3 separate regions of the Homo sapiens genome follow, and regions 1 and 2 are each linked to region 3. The links are contacts of gene promoters, found by promoter capture Hi-C in human tissues and cell types (Jung and others, 2019). All regions are on one chromosome and are shown on one strand. Each heading gives the region's core, a stretch centred on a gene start or on the middle of the fragment in contact. The rest is flanking DNA. Distances are from core to core; before and after follow the strand shown.

Region 1 (4,709 bases), core at 1,896-4,395, 270 kb after region 3:
ACATGGTGAAACCCCATCTCTACTAAAAACAAAATAGCCAGGCATGGTGGCACATGCCTGTAGTCCCAGCTACTCAGGAGGCTGAGGCAGGAGAATCACTTGAACCCGGGAGGCAGAGGTTGCAGTGAGCGGAGACCGCAACACTGCACTCCAGCCTGGGCAACAGAGCAAGACTCCATCTCAAAAAAATAAATAAATAAACAAAAATACAAATCGTTTCCACTCTACATTCTCCATTGTTTTCCCATCACCCTTGCAATAAAATCCCAACTCATTCCCATGGCAAGCAAAGCCCACTGTGACCTTGCTTCGCCTACCTCTCCCATCTCATCTCTCATCTCCCCGGCCTCACTCTGCGCTGGCCACATGCGTTTCTTCTGTTCCTCAAGCAAACCAACTTGTTCCAACCCCAGAACCTTTGCAGCAGCTCTTTCCTCTGCCTGGAGCTCTCCTTCTCCAAATGAAGGTTTCAGCTCCAATCCTGCTTTCTTAGGGACATCTCTGATGATGTTCCTGCCACCATCACATGGATCATGTCAACTTATTTTATGTTCATTTTTGCACTTGTCGCTACCTAAAATCATCTGGTACCTTGTGTGCGTTATTCACCAAGTACCCCCGGTGCCTAGAATTCTGTCTGGCACATGGCAGGCACACAATATGTGTTTATTTAATTGAGCCCCTTTGACTCGTCATTGATGTCTAAGTCAATGACCTTCAGGATCAAGTCTGTCTTCGTATGAGAGCGTCTAACATGTAAGTGTCTAGACAGTCATTTTATTTTTGGTATTTTTGGCAAAGTGAGTTGCTTCTGGAAAACCAGACAACGCCTGTCTCCCTAGAGTCTCATCCAAAGCTGTGCCACCTCTTCTTCAATCTGCCAAGACTCGCACTGCCTGGCCCCTCCATCAGAAAGAGGCATGGATAAGACAAAGATTTTACAAATCTTACTGGAGCATTCTACTGAAAAATAGGCATGCCACTGGATTGGACCCTTCAACCAGAGGCGGCCAGAGCTAGCAAGAGCTTGTGCTCCTCAGCGGGTTGAACACATGGGATTAATTCAGGCAGGAGCCAGGCGAGAAATGCCGGCCCCTGCAGAGTGCTAAAGAAGAGGAATTTTAAGATCCAGACTGAACAGAAAGCTGTTGTGAGGGTGGGGATTAGGAGTGATGAAGAGAGGTGGGAAGGACTTACTGCCTTAACCCAAGGGATCTGAATCTACTAGGGTTGATATTAAATGTTTAATCTGGGGCCAGGCACAGTGGCTCTTGCCTATAATCCCAGCACTTTGGGAGGCTGAGATGTGAGGATCACTTAAGGCCACGAGTTAGAGACTAGCCTGGTCAACATAGTGAGACAACCATCTCTATTTTAAAAAAAAAATTATTATATTTTTTTTGAGATGGAGTCTTGCTCTGTTGCCCAGGAGTGCAATGGTGCAATCTTGGCTCACTGCAACCTCCACCTCCCAGGTTTAAATGATTCTCCTGCCTCAGCCTCCCGAGTAGCTGGGATTACAGGCACCTGACACCACGCCCAGCTAATTTTTTAATTTTTTAGTAGAGACGGGGTTTCGCCATGTTGGCCAGGCTGGTTTCGAACTCCTGACCTCAGGTGATCCACCCATGTTGGCCTCCCAAAGTACTGGGATTACAGGTGTGAGCCACCATGCCCAGCCTATTTTTTAAAATTTTTTAAAGTTTAAATAAAATTTAACAAATAAAAATTTAATTTGGGGCATTTACATGTGTGAGTGTGTGTGTGTGTGTGTGTGAGTGTGTGTGTGTGAGAGTGTGTGTGTGTGTGTGTGTGTTTTAGAGAACTGGTCTGTAGTTTTTTATCAGGTTTGCAATAGGATCTGTGTCCCAAAAGGTTAAGAACCACAGTTCTGGAAGGCATGCAATTAGGCTAGCAAATCATCTCCATCCTAAACATGACCTGAACTGAAACAATCAAGAGAAAGGAAAAGTGCTTCATGCTCCAAAGAAAACAAAAGCCACTTCCAACAGGAATTGGCTGTCACATTCTCTGCACTTGGAAAAAAAAATCAACAGAGCATCCGCCCAGCCTGCCCAAGGCCCATCCCTTAAGCCCAGGTCCCCAGGGAAGGCAGTGAGCTTTTGTTTTCCAGTCTGTGGGCAACTGGCTGGGCAAAGAGCCAGTGGGGAGAGATCTCGATGGAAGAAAATACAGCGATGTGCCGAGTCGAGTGGGCTGGAAGCACCCGAAGGTGGGCCCTGGCTGATGCCGGGACAGAGATGCTGCGATGACCCATCGCAGGAGGAGCCATGTGCTGGCTGCTGCCTTCTCTCCTTCTCTCTTGACTTTGCTCCAGCCAGGATGTTGGGCCTGCTTTTCTCTCTTGGTGCTCCGGGCACCTCAGTATTAATCATGGGCCTCAGTGTTTTTCTAAGTAGATTTTTGGACCCTTCATGGTTGGCAAGTCCATGTTTCTCCCTGGGGCCACCCGTGCTATCAGATCAGAGCACCTGCCTATATTTAAGGTTGTGTCACGTTTGGTTTTCGGCGAACACTCCCTTCGCCTGGCCCTTCTTGCCTTTGTAAGAGAAGGACCTAGGACATGGCAAATGTCCCAGTGAACGCTGGAAGGAGCCCTGAGAGCAAGCGGGAGGGCCCGGAGCCAGCGTGCTGCGCCAGCACTCCGTGTAACCTCCAGGGAGGGCGCAGTCCACACATGTCCTGGCTTCCGAGAGGCAGGCCCTGGGTGTCAGCTCACAGCCATCCGCTCCAGCTCAGCCTCTCCAGCAGCCCCAGGGATTCTCACTGGGCCTGGAGTTGTTGTTTTTCTGTGTTTGCATATATGTCCTATCTTTACAGGAAACCAGGGGGATTCCTGGTTTCCTTCCCCAAATCTGTTTCTCCTCCAAGCTTTCTTATCTCAATAAACAGTGCCTTCATCACCCAGGTGCTCATCTTTCAGGTCCCAGCTGAAGCAGCACCTCCTCCTTGGAAAGATCCTCCCAAGCACCAGATCTGAAGTGACCCCATCACCCACCCACACACCAAGATACCCTCCTTCATGCCAGCCTGTTTGTTGATCACATTCTGTAATTATTTCATTTTTCTGTCTGTCTCCTCACTCAAAATGTAGAGCTGGCTGGGCACAGGGGCTCACGAATGTAGTCCCAGCACTTTGGGAGGCCGAGGTAGGTGGGAGGATCGCTTGAGCCCAGGGGTTTGAGACCAGCCTGGGCAATATAGTGAGACCCTGTCTCTACAAAAAAGAAAATTAAAAAATTAGCCTGAAGTGGTGGCATGGGCCTGTAGTCCCAGCTACTGGGGAGGCTGGGGTGGGAGGATCGCTTGAGCCCAGCAGGTCAAGGTTGCAGTGAGCTGTGATCACGCCACTGCACTCCAGCCTGGGCGACAGAGGAAGACCTTGCTCAAAAAATAAAAAAATAAAAAATAAAAAGTAGAGTCTATGAGGATGGGAACAGCTGGACATACTGTGTTTGTTTCTTTCGATTCACTCTCCAGCCCTCTCCCCTCCTGCCTACAGCTCAGGAGGCTGACCAATGGGGACTGTGCCTCGGGGGTCTCTGCAGACTCCTGGGTCGCCCACGCGCAGTTCCCATCCACGGAGGATCCCCAAGCTCCCAACTCCAAAGGCTTCCGGTTTGTGTCCCCTAAGGGGAGGCACAAGTAGGAGATGAGAGAGTGGAGGACAATGAGGCCAGGATGGCTCCCTCCCTGCTGTGGACCCTGCCCGCTCCCTCTGCTGCAACCCTTACCAGGCTCTAGTAACCACTTTCTCCCCTTGCCTGTCTGGGCAGTAACAGCTGCCATGTGTCACCAACCCTGAAATGCTTCACCATGCCTTCAACTAGTTCCTCTCTGCCCTGCACACATGGCTGCAAATGTCCCTTCATGAAACTCTCCTCAACGACCCTTTTTGAATGTGCCATTTGTTACCTGTCAGGAGCCTGGGGATGGTTCTGATCAATACTGGGGCCACGTCTGACTCATACAGTGTTTCCCAGCAACGTGCTGGGGAATGTCTGGCGTGTCTTAGGTACTTAATGCGTGTGTTTTGAATACATAAATCAATGATAAAGATATTGTGATTTTATTTACATTTTTATTAAGAAAGAATTTATGGGTCGGGTGTGGTGGCTCACACCTGTAATCCCAGCACTTTGGGAGGCCGAGGCAGGTGGATCACTTGAGGTCAGGAGTTTGAGACCAGCCTGGCCAACATGGGGAAACCCCGTCTCTACTAAAAATGCAAAAATTGTCTGGGCATGGTGATGTGCGCCTGTAGTCCCAGCCACTCAGGAGGCTGAGGTGGGAGGATGGTTTGAGCCCAGGAGGCGGAGGTTGCAGTAAGCTGAGATCGCATCACTGCACTCCAGTCTGGATGACAGAGCAGGACTCCATCTCAAAAAAAAAAAAAAAAAAAAGAATTTATGCACCACAAAATTCACCCTTTTAAAGTATACAATTTAGTGTTTTTCAGTGTATTCACAAACATATGAGATGAGACCATTACCACTGTCTAATTTCATCCCCTCAAAAAGGAACTCTGTGCCCTTTGGCAGTGACTCCCCACATCTCCCCTCCCCCTGCACCCGGAAACAACTTATCTACCTTCTGTCTCTATGAACTTGCCTATTTTGGACTTTTCATTCCAATGGAAGTTACAGTATGTGGTCATTTGTGTCTGGCTTCTTTCACTTAGGCACAGT
Region 2 (4,691 bases), core at 889-3,388, 310 kb after region 3:
TCAAATGGATGCAGGGCTGCCATGGGCCACTGGCAGCCCAGCTGGAGGAGTTGGAATCACTGCACTAGGCCCGAGGCTATAGCAGGGTCCTGGCCAGTCTTAGGCCAAGATAATGCCCAGGCTGAGGAGCATACGAAGGCCTCGACGAAAACCCAAAGAGCCCCGGCACCCCAGGAGAAGCCAGACCAGCTCTCAGTGAAGACAGAGGGTAGGAGCTACTGTCCAACTCCAGCGTCAGCCACTGGATGGTCCCGCCCATGTTTATCATCTGCTTCTTCTCAGATATGATCTGCCACTACATGTTCATCCTGGTACAGAGCGACAAGAAGCTCACCCAGGAGCAAGTATCTGACAGTTAAGTCCTAATTTGAAGCAGAGCCTTCAGTGAAAATGGAAATTACATTCCCAAAAAGTCTTTTTCTTGACATGAGAATATTACATCAACAACCCAGAGGATAAAAATATCACCACTTCCTCCCACTATGCTCTCAGGCATGATGAAAGGAAATATAACAAACGTCATCCCTATGATTCTTACTTGTGAATGGATCAACATTGACATACTCAGGCATTGTTGCAACCAAGGTCCTATTTCCACTGACCCTCTGTTTTTTGTTGTTGTTGTTTGTTTGTTTGTTTGTTTTGAGACGGAGTCTCACTCTGTTGCCCAGGCTGGAATGCAGTAGCACAATCTCGGCTCACTGCAACCTCTGCCTCCCAAGTTCAAGCGATTCTCCTGCCTCAGCCTCCCAGGTAGCTGGGACTACAGGTGCCTGCCACCATGCCCAGCTAATTTTTGTGTTTTTAGTAGAGACAAGGTTTCACCACGTTGGCCAGGCTGGTCTCGAACTCCTGACCTCAGGTGATTCACCCGCCTCGGCCTCCTAAAGTGCTGGGATTACAGGCATGAGCCACTGCACCCGGCCGACCCTCTGGTTTTAAGCCTATGCTGCAGCAAGTTATCAAACTACTCACATTAGATCCACCCTGAATGAGCTCTGCATCCTGGTATTTCCTCAACGTATTTGGGCTTCAGAGAATTTACTGTGATTCTAGGCCAAGATAATGGCAACTGACCAATAAGAAATGAGGCAGGAGCAGATGACCAGAGCAGCCATGGCCATGCCCACAGAAACCAGCAAAGCTTCCAAGACAAAGTAGAAAGTTCTGGAGCTGATGGGTCACCAGTGGACACCAGATGATGTCAAAGAGCTCATGGGCAAAGGCCTTCACTTTGAAGTTATGTTCAAAAAGGAGTTACAAGACCAAGTGCCATGGCTCACGCCTGTAATCCCAACACTTTGGGAGGCTGAAGAGGGCGGATCACTTGAGGCCAGGAGTTTGAGACCAGCCTGGCCAACGTGGTGAAACCCTGTCTCTACTAAAAGTACAAAAATTAGCTGGGTATGCTGGCGCTCACCTGTAATCCCAACTATTCGGGAAAACCACTTGAACCCGGGAGGCGAAGTTTTCAGTGAGCCACAATCGCACCACTGCACTCCAGCCTGGGCAATACAGTGAAGCTCTGTCACAAAAAAAATTTTTAAAAAAGCCTCTATTTTTTGAAGACCAAGTAGTAAAAATTAGCTCTGCCAGAACTTGGAGTAGTCCTTAACCTGCTAACTTGTGTTTGAGCTAGAGACTCTCAGAATTTAAAAAAAAAAAAAAAAAAAGGATAGCTAGGCACAGTGGCTCACACCTGTATTCCCAACACTTTGGGAGGCCAAGGCAGGAAGATTGCTTGAGGCCAGGAATTCAAGACCAACCTGGGCAACCAAGCAAGACCTTGTTCTCCACAAAAAAAATTTTAAAAATTAAAAAATTATCCAGGCATGGTGGCCTGTAGTCCTGGCTACTCAGGAAGCTGAATTAGGAGGATCATCCAGAAGCCAAGGAATTCGAGGCATGGCGCCACTGCACTGCAGCCTGGGCAACGGAGACCCTGTCACTAAAAAAATTAAAAATACATAAATATTAAAAAGTAAAAAATAATAATTTAAAAAGAAAGATATATGAGCCGCTGAGCATGCAGCAAGGATCATTCTTATCTGAGCCAGGTTTCCCTTTATGCCTGAAACTAGAAAAAATGCAGTGTGTGTGCTGGATGATTTACAGGGAAAGAGCCATTTAAAAAATGTTTTACATTTTCCTTCTGGTGACTCTAGAAATGAGAGGCAGAGAAAGGGGAAAACTTAAGCTAGCCAAAATATAAACATTTACCAAAAATTCAATCTTTGAAAAAGCATTATTATTTTCTGAAAGATTTCATGTAAACAAAGAAAGAAAAAGCATTATTAATTATAACTAATTATTATATGCAGTCTGACTTTTAATCACAGTAAGCTCCTATTTTGAGATCCAAGCACCCTGCATTTTTATATTTAATTGTTAGTATTTTTATAACTTTCTTTACAAAAGTAATAATTTTCATTACCAAAAATTTAGAAACTATAGATAAGCAAAATGAATCTCCCTGTATTGTTCATTCTGAGCCTACAGGATGACATGAAGAGCAAATACGTGAAAACTTCATTCACACAAACTCTTTTCAGACAGATTATCCAGGGCCAGGAAAAGTAGCAAACCTTCTATATATTTTAATACTATCCAGGGAAAATTAGTGACCCTGACATACTGCCAGATCTATTTCCCATCTAGGGAACTTTCAGGATCATCAAAGACAGGTTAAGTAATGGGAAGTTCTTGATCTAGAGTTGAGAATATTATCAAACCCACTGAAAAAAAATGAGTTTCTATACTGTATATGTCCAGTCAGTTGAACTAAAAACCCCAGATATTCTAGATAAGAGTTTACATAACTTTTTAAGAAGGCAGAGAGATCAACTGCTGGCAGACATCTAGGTGAGGGTTGCACAGGAATTTTTCTGTCTGGAATAAATGTCCAGGGAAGTGGCAGGGTACCATTTCTGTATCAACAGGTAGATGAAATTTGCATAATGAGCACTGTAATCAAGAAGAAATGACTCTTGACTACAAATTAAACCATCTCGCTTTCTCTTTAAGAAATAAATCAAAGAGAAGTAAGGACAGTCGTGGTGGCTCACGCCTATAATCCCAGCACTTTGGGAGGCTGAGGCGGGCGGATCACGAGGTCAGGAGACCGAGACCATCCTGGCCAACATGGTGAAACCCTGTCTGTACTAAAAATACAAAAAATTAGCTGGATGTGGTGGCATGTGCCTGTAAGTCCCAGCTACTCAGGAGGCTGAGGCAGGAAAATCACTTGAACGCGGGAGGCGGAGGTTGCAGTGAGCTGAGATTGTGCCACTGCACTCCAGCCTGGGCAACAGAGCAAGACTCCATCTCAAAAAAAAAAAAAAAAAAGAGAGAAGTAAAACTGGGAAATCAGAATAATATCTGTGGACTGATTAATGTCAATATCCTGGTTGTGATACCATACTAAAGTCTTGCAAAATGTTACAAATGAGAGAAGAGTACAAAGGATCTCTATCATTTCTTACAACTACATATGAATCTACAATTATCTCAATAAAAATTTCCATTAAAAAATCAAATGAAGGCCAGGCACGGCGGCGCAGGCCTGTAATCCCAGCAGTTTGGGAGGCCAAGGTGGAAGGATCGCTTGAGCCTGGGAGTTCATGACCATCCTGGACAACATAGTGAGACACTATCTCTTTAAAAAAAAAAAAATCAAATGAGATCCCCTAATATATACTAAAGAGAAATGTGTAATAGATATATGTATTTACACACACACACACACACACACACGCAACACACACGGCCATAGCAGCATTATTCATTACAGTCCCAAACTGGAAACAGCCCAAACATCTACAGCAGAGTATGTACAAAATGAGATATAATCATACAATGGAATCCTAATCTGCAATGAAAAAGAACGAACCACTGCCACATACACAACACATGAGAATGCAACATGTTGAACTGAAGAAACCAGACACAAAAGAATATATACTGTGAAATTTCCATTTATAAAAAGTTCAAACACAGGCAAAATGAATCTATGCTGTTATGGTAATACAGTGGGTACCTCTGGGGATGAGGAAGAACCAGATGGTGGTTATACAAGTGTGTTCACTTACTACAGTGACATCTTATGGCTAAATCTCAAAAATATAGGCAGTATGTAAAGTAAATTCATAGAAACACAAAGTAGAATGTGATTGCCAGGCACTGGGGAAGGAAAAAAAGGGAATTTGTTTAATGAGTATAGTCTCATTTTTGTAAGATGTAAAAGTTCTAGAGATCTGATTCACAACAATATTCAATATTCAATATTTAAAACAATTGAATTGTACACTTAAAAATGTTTAAGATGGGCCAGGTGCAGTGGCTGAGGCCTATAATCCCAGGACTTTGGGAAGCTGAGGCAGGAGGATCACTAGAGGCCAGGGGTTGGAGACCAGCCTGGGCAACACAGCAAGACCCCGATCTATATTAAAAACAAACTAAAAAAATTGGCCAGGTGTGGTGGTGCACATCTGTAGTCCCAGCTACTTGGGAGGCTGAGGCAGAAAGATTGCTTGAGCCCAGGAGTTCAAGGCTACAATGAGCTACAATCACACCACTGCACTCGAGCCTGAGTGACAGAGCAAGACCCTGTCTTTAAAACAAACAAATGTTTAAGATGGTAGATTTTGGCTCACACCTGTAATCCCAGCACTTTGGGAGGCTGAGGCAGGTGG
Region 3 (4,264 bases), core at 1,021-3,520:
GCAACCACCCAGATTTGCACAGCCTGGCTCCTTTGAGTATGAATATGCCATGCGCTGGAAGGCACTCATTGAGATGGAGAAGCAGCAGCAGGACCAAGTGGACCGCAACATCAAAGAGGCTCGTGAGAAGCCAGAGATGGAGATGGAGGCTGCACGCCATAAGCACCAGGTCATGCTAATGAGACAGAATTTGATGAGGCGCCAAGAAGAACTTCGGAGGATGGAAGAGCTGCACAACCAAGAGGTGCAAAAACGAAAGCAACTGGAGCTCAGGCAGGAGGAAGAGCGCAGGCGCCCTGAAGAAGAGATGCGGCGGCAGCAAGAAGAAATGATGCAGCCACAGCAGGAAGGATTCAAGGGAACCTTCCCTGATGTGAGAGAGCAGGAGATTTGGATGGGTCAGATGGCTATGGGAGGTGCTATGGGCATAAACAGCAGAGGTGCCTTGACCCCTGCTCCTGTGCCAGCTGGTACCCCAGCTCCTCCAGGACCTGCCACTATGATGCCGGATGGAACTTTGGGATTGACCCCACCAACAACTGAACGCTTTGGTCAGGCTGCTACAATGGAAGGAATTGGGGCAATTGGTGAAACTCCTCCTGCATTCAACCATGCAGCTCCTGGAGCTGAATTTGCTCCAAACAAACGTCGCCGATACTAATAAGTTGCAGTGTCTAGTTTCTCAAAACCCTTAAAAGAAGGACCCTTTTTGGACCAGCCAGAATTCTACCCTGGAAAAGTGTTAGGGATTCCTTCCAATAGTTAGATCTACCCTGCCTGTACTACTCTAGGGAGTATGCTGGAGGCAGAGGACAAGGGAGGGGTGGTATTAAACAAGTCAATTCTATGTAGTATATTATTTAATCAGTTCTGTGTGGTGCATTCCTGAAGTCTCAAATGTGATTGTTGAGGGCCTGGGGAAACCATGGCAAAGTAGATCCAGTTAGAGCCCATTAATCTTGATCATTCTGTTTTTTTGGTTTGTTTGTTGTTTTTTTTTTTTTTTTTTTTTGTCCATCTTGTTTCATTTGCTTGCCCTGCCCCCGAGATGGAGTCTTACTCTGTCGCCCAGGCTGGAGTGTAGTGGCACGATCTCGGCTCACTGCAATCTCTGCCTCTCGGGTTCAAGCTTGTCCAGGCTGATCTTGAACTCCTGACCTCGTGATCCCCTGCCTCAGCCTCCCAAAATGCTGGGATTACAGGGGTGAGCCACCGTGCCCAACCTCACTTGCTTTCTTATCCTTACACTCCCCCAGTCCCAGAGAAACTGCCACATACACCACAAAAACCAAACATCCCCCAATGACCTTAGCCGCATTGCTCCATTCACTCCCAGGTGAGAATTCAGGTAAACGTCCACAAAGGTCACAGGCAACGTACATACGGTTCTATTATATCCCATATATTACCCCTTCATGTCCTAAAGAAGACATTTTCTCTTAGAGATTTTCATTTTAGTATATCTTTAAAAAAAAATCTTGTGTTAACTTGCCTCCATCTTTTTCTTGGGTGAGGACACCCAGGAATGACCCTTTTGTGTCTATGATACTGCTGTTCACAGCTTTTCTTGATAGGCCTAGTACAATCTTGGGAACAGGGTTACTGTATACTGAAGGTCTGACAGTAGCTCTTAGACTCGCCTATCTTAGGTAGTCATGCTGTGCCTTTTTTTTCCATTGGTGTATTGTATTTGATTTGTCTCTGATATATTTGGAGTTTTTCTGAGAACTGGAGCAGTAATGCAGCATCGACCTATTAAAATACATTTTAAGCCTTTAAAAAAAAACAGTACCTATCTCATAGGGGTGCTGTGATAACGAAATTAGGTAATCTGTATTGATTGACTTTTAACCATAAGAATATATACAGGTTTTAAATTTATTTATTTATTGAAGAGATGGGGGTCTCTCTATGTTGCCCAGGCTGGTTTCACATTCCAGGGCTCAGGCAATCCTTTCGCCTCAGCCTCCTTAATAGCTGGGACTCTAGGCGCGCACCACTACACCTGGCAGGTTTTATCTTCAAAGGTGAAGAAGGCACTAAGGTCTAGATGCTGAAGCCGATTTCCCAGGTGTCCCCCAAGGTTTGACCCCGCCCACACTTCTCTGGCTATGCGGGCGGCGTCGCTGCGCATGCGCGCGAGTAGAGCAGGGAGGTGCTGGCGCGGCCGCCAGGAGGCGCAGCTAAGTCGCGGCTGCTCTTCCTGGTTCCCAGAGGCCCAGACTTGGACATAGGAGCCGGCGCAAGCTCCGTGCGCATGCGCGCTCCCCTCTCACGCAGCCAACATGGCTCCAGTGGAGCACGTTGTGGCGGATGCTGGGGCTTTCCTGCGGCATGCGGCTCTGCAGGTACGGGGAGCTCCCTCCGGGACGAGAGAGATCTGGGCTGGCCGCCCCTCCCGGAGTGCGTGGAGTCGCGCGGAGCGTTGCTTGGTGCGGGTGGGTCTGAGCTGGGGCGTTCTGTCCGCAGGACATCGGGAAGAACATTTACACCATCCGGGAGGTGGTCACTGAGATTCGGGACAAGGCCACACGCAGGCGGCTCGCTGTCCTGCCCTACGAGCTGCGGTTCAAGGAGCCCTTACCGGAATACGTGCGGCTGGGTGAGTGCCTCTGCCCTAGCGTTGACGGGAAGCTGGGGTCCAGGGCGCAGATGGCACCCAGTTGGGTGCGAGTTGGGGTCTAGCTGCCTTATCAGAGCAGTAGATTTAGAGCCAGCACTTTCTAGGAGATTGTGGTAGGAGAGAGGCTTCCTGGGTCTGGAGTCCTCCAGTAACTAGCTGTATGCTCTCGGGCATAGCATTCAAATTTGGGCCTCGTTTACCTCATCCGCAAAATGGGAATAATAATTGTATCTGTCTCCAAGGTTGCTGTGAGCATGAACTGAGGAATATGGCAGTCAGCTCAGTGTCAAGCACTTTGCAGACAAGCAATAAATTTATTTGGATTTAAAATAAGAGTTTGGATCTCTTGCTATTACTCTCGTCCATTTCTTTTCAGTAGATTGGGCTGATGACTGGATACAAAGATCTGCACCTGGCAGAGCTTTAAAAAGGGAATGCTTTGCATTGTATTAAATGTGAAAGAAAATTAAGCTGGGCGCGGTGGCTTACGGCCTGTAATCCCAGCACTGGGAGACCGAGGCGGGCGCATCACCTGAGGTCAGGAGTTTGAGACCAGCCTGACCAACATGGTGAAACCCTGCCTCTACTAAAAATACAAAATTAGCTGGGCGTGGTGGTGTGCTCCTGTAATCCCAGCTACTTGGGAGGCTGAGGCAGGAGAATTGCTTGAACCTGGAGGTGGAGGTTGCAGTGAGCCGAGATCGTACCACTGCACTCCAGCCTGGGCGACAGAGCGAGACTCTGTCTCAAAAAAAATAAGAAATAAAGAAAATTAAAGAATTGTCTCTTGGCTTAGGAGTCAGCGTTGTTCTCTTGTTGGGAATCAAGGTGATACCCAGGAAAGGCCCCTCAGTGGTTGGAAGTGTTTTAGAGGTTAGAGGCTGATAGTGGAGATGATGTTACCTCCTCTGTTTGTGATTTCTACGATTTTCTCCACCAACTTAGTAGCTCTGTGATCTTTGCCAACTTACTAAATCTTTCCGAGGAAATACTAATAGTACTTTTGAAGAATGGCAAAGGATGAAATGCATTAACACATAAAGCTTTTAATGCAGTGCCTAGTACACAGTAAGTGCACAGTAAATTTTCGTTGCTGCTAATGTCTGTTTTTTAGGAAATAAGAGCAATATACCTAGTGTTCCTTGTACCAGGGTAGCAGGAGACATCTTTCTGTTAATTTCAGGAAATTTTAAGTGTTTATTATGGATGACTCTGGAGAATAACAGCAGTCTGACATGTATTATGCATTAAGCACATGCTTTTTGTTTCCTCATAGACTACTACAATTACAAGTTGAGCATACTGAATCTGAAATCCAGAATGCTCCTAAATCTGAAACTTTTTTTTTTTTGAGATGGAGTCTGGCTGTGTTGCCTAGCCTGGAGTGCAGTGGCACGATCTTGGCTCACTGCAGCCTCCACCTCCTGGGTTCCAGCAATTCTTCTGCCTCAGCCTCCCCAGTAGCTGGGACTACAGGCACACGCCACCACACCTGGCTAACTTTTGTATTTTTAGGAGACAAGGGGTTTCACCATGTTGGCCAGGCTGGTCTGGAACTCCTGACCTCAAGTGATCTACCCACCTCAGCCTCCTGTAGTGAGGTGTGAGCCACCACGCCCCAACTTTCTTCTTTTTTTTGAG

What was found. The method cuts DNA at HindIII sites, captures the fragments that hold promoters and counts their contacts. A contact is called where the count stands out against the background at its distance.
Region 1: a fragment that was not itself captured here is called in contact with the fragment with the promoter of NOB1 in region 3 in 1 of the 25 tissues and cell types used here (bladder).
Region 2: a fragment that was not itself captured here is called in contact with the fragment with the promoter of NOB1 in region 3 in 1 of the 25 tissues and cell types used here (dorsolateral prefrontal cortex).

What each region holds. Positions count from the first base shown.
Region 1 is chr16:69,480,158-69,484,866 of GRCh38, reverse strand. No RefSeq gene overlaps it. Among named protein-coding and RNA genes, the nearest start is that of CYB5B, 58 kb to the right of the region's middle. The HindIII fragment of the contact is 7,934 bases long and covers 1-4,709 here.
Region 2 is chr16:69,439,808-69,444,498 of GRCh38, reverse strand. The region is part of intron 1 of CYB5B (cytochrome b5 type B); the gene reads right to left. It also overlaps the pseudogene LOC100420066. Among named protein-coding and RNA genes, the nearest start is that of CYB5B, 18 kb to the right of the region's middle. RefSeq lists enhancers at 1-255, 286-365 and a silencer at 712-994. The HindIII fragment of the contact is 5,837 bases long and covers 1-4,691 here.
Region 3 is chr16:69,752,932-69,757,195 of GRCh38, reverse strand. It overlaps NOB1 (NIN1 (RPN12) binding protein 1 homolog), which reads left to right and starts at 2,270. Exons shown (of 9, transcript NM_014062.3): 1 at 2,270-2,348; 2 at 2,470-2,602. The coding sequence starts at 2,286. It also overlaps the pseudogene NONOP1. RefSeq lists enhancers at 1,978-2,600, 2,601-3,224. The HindIII fragment of the contact is 4,198 bases long and covers 128-4,264 here.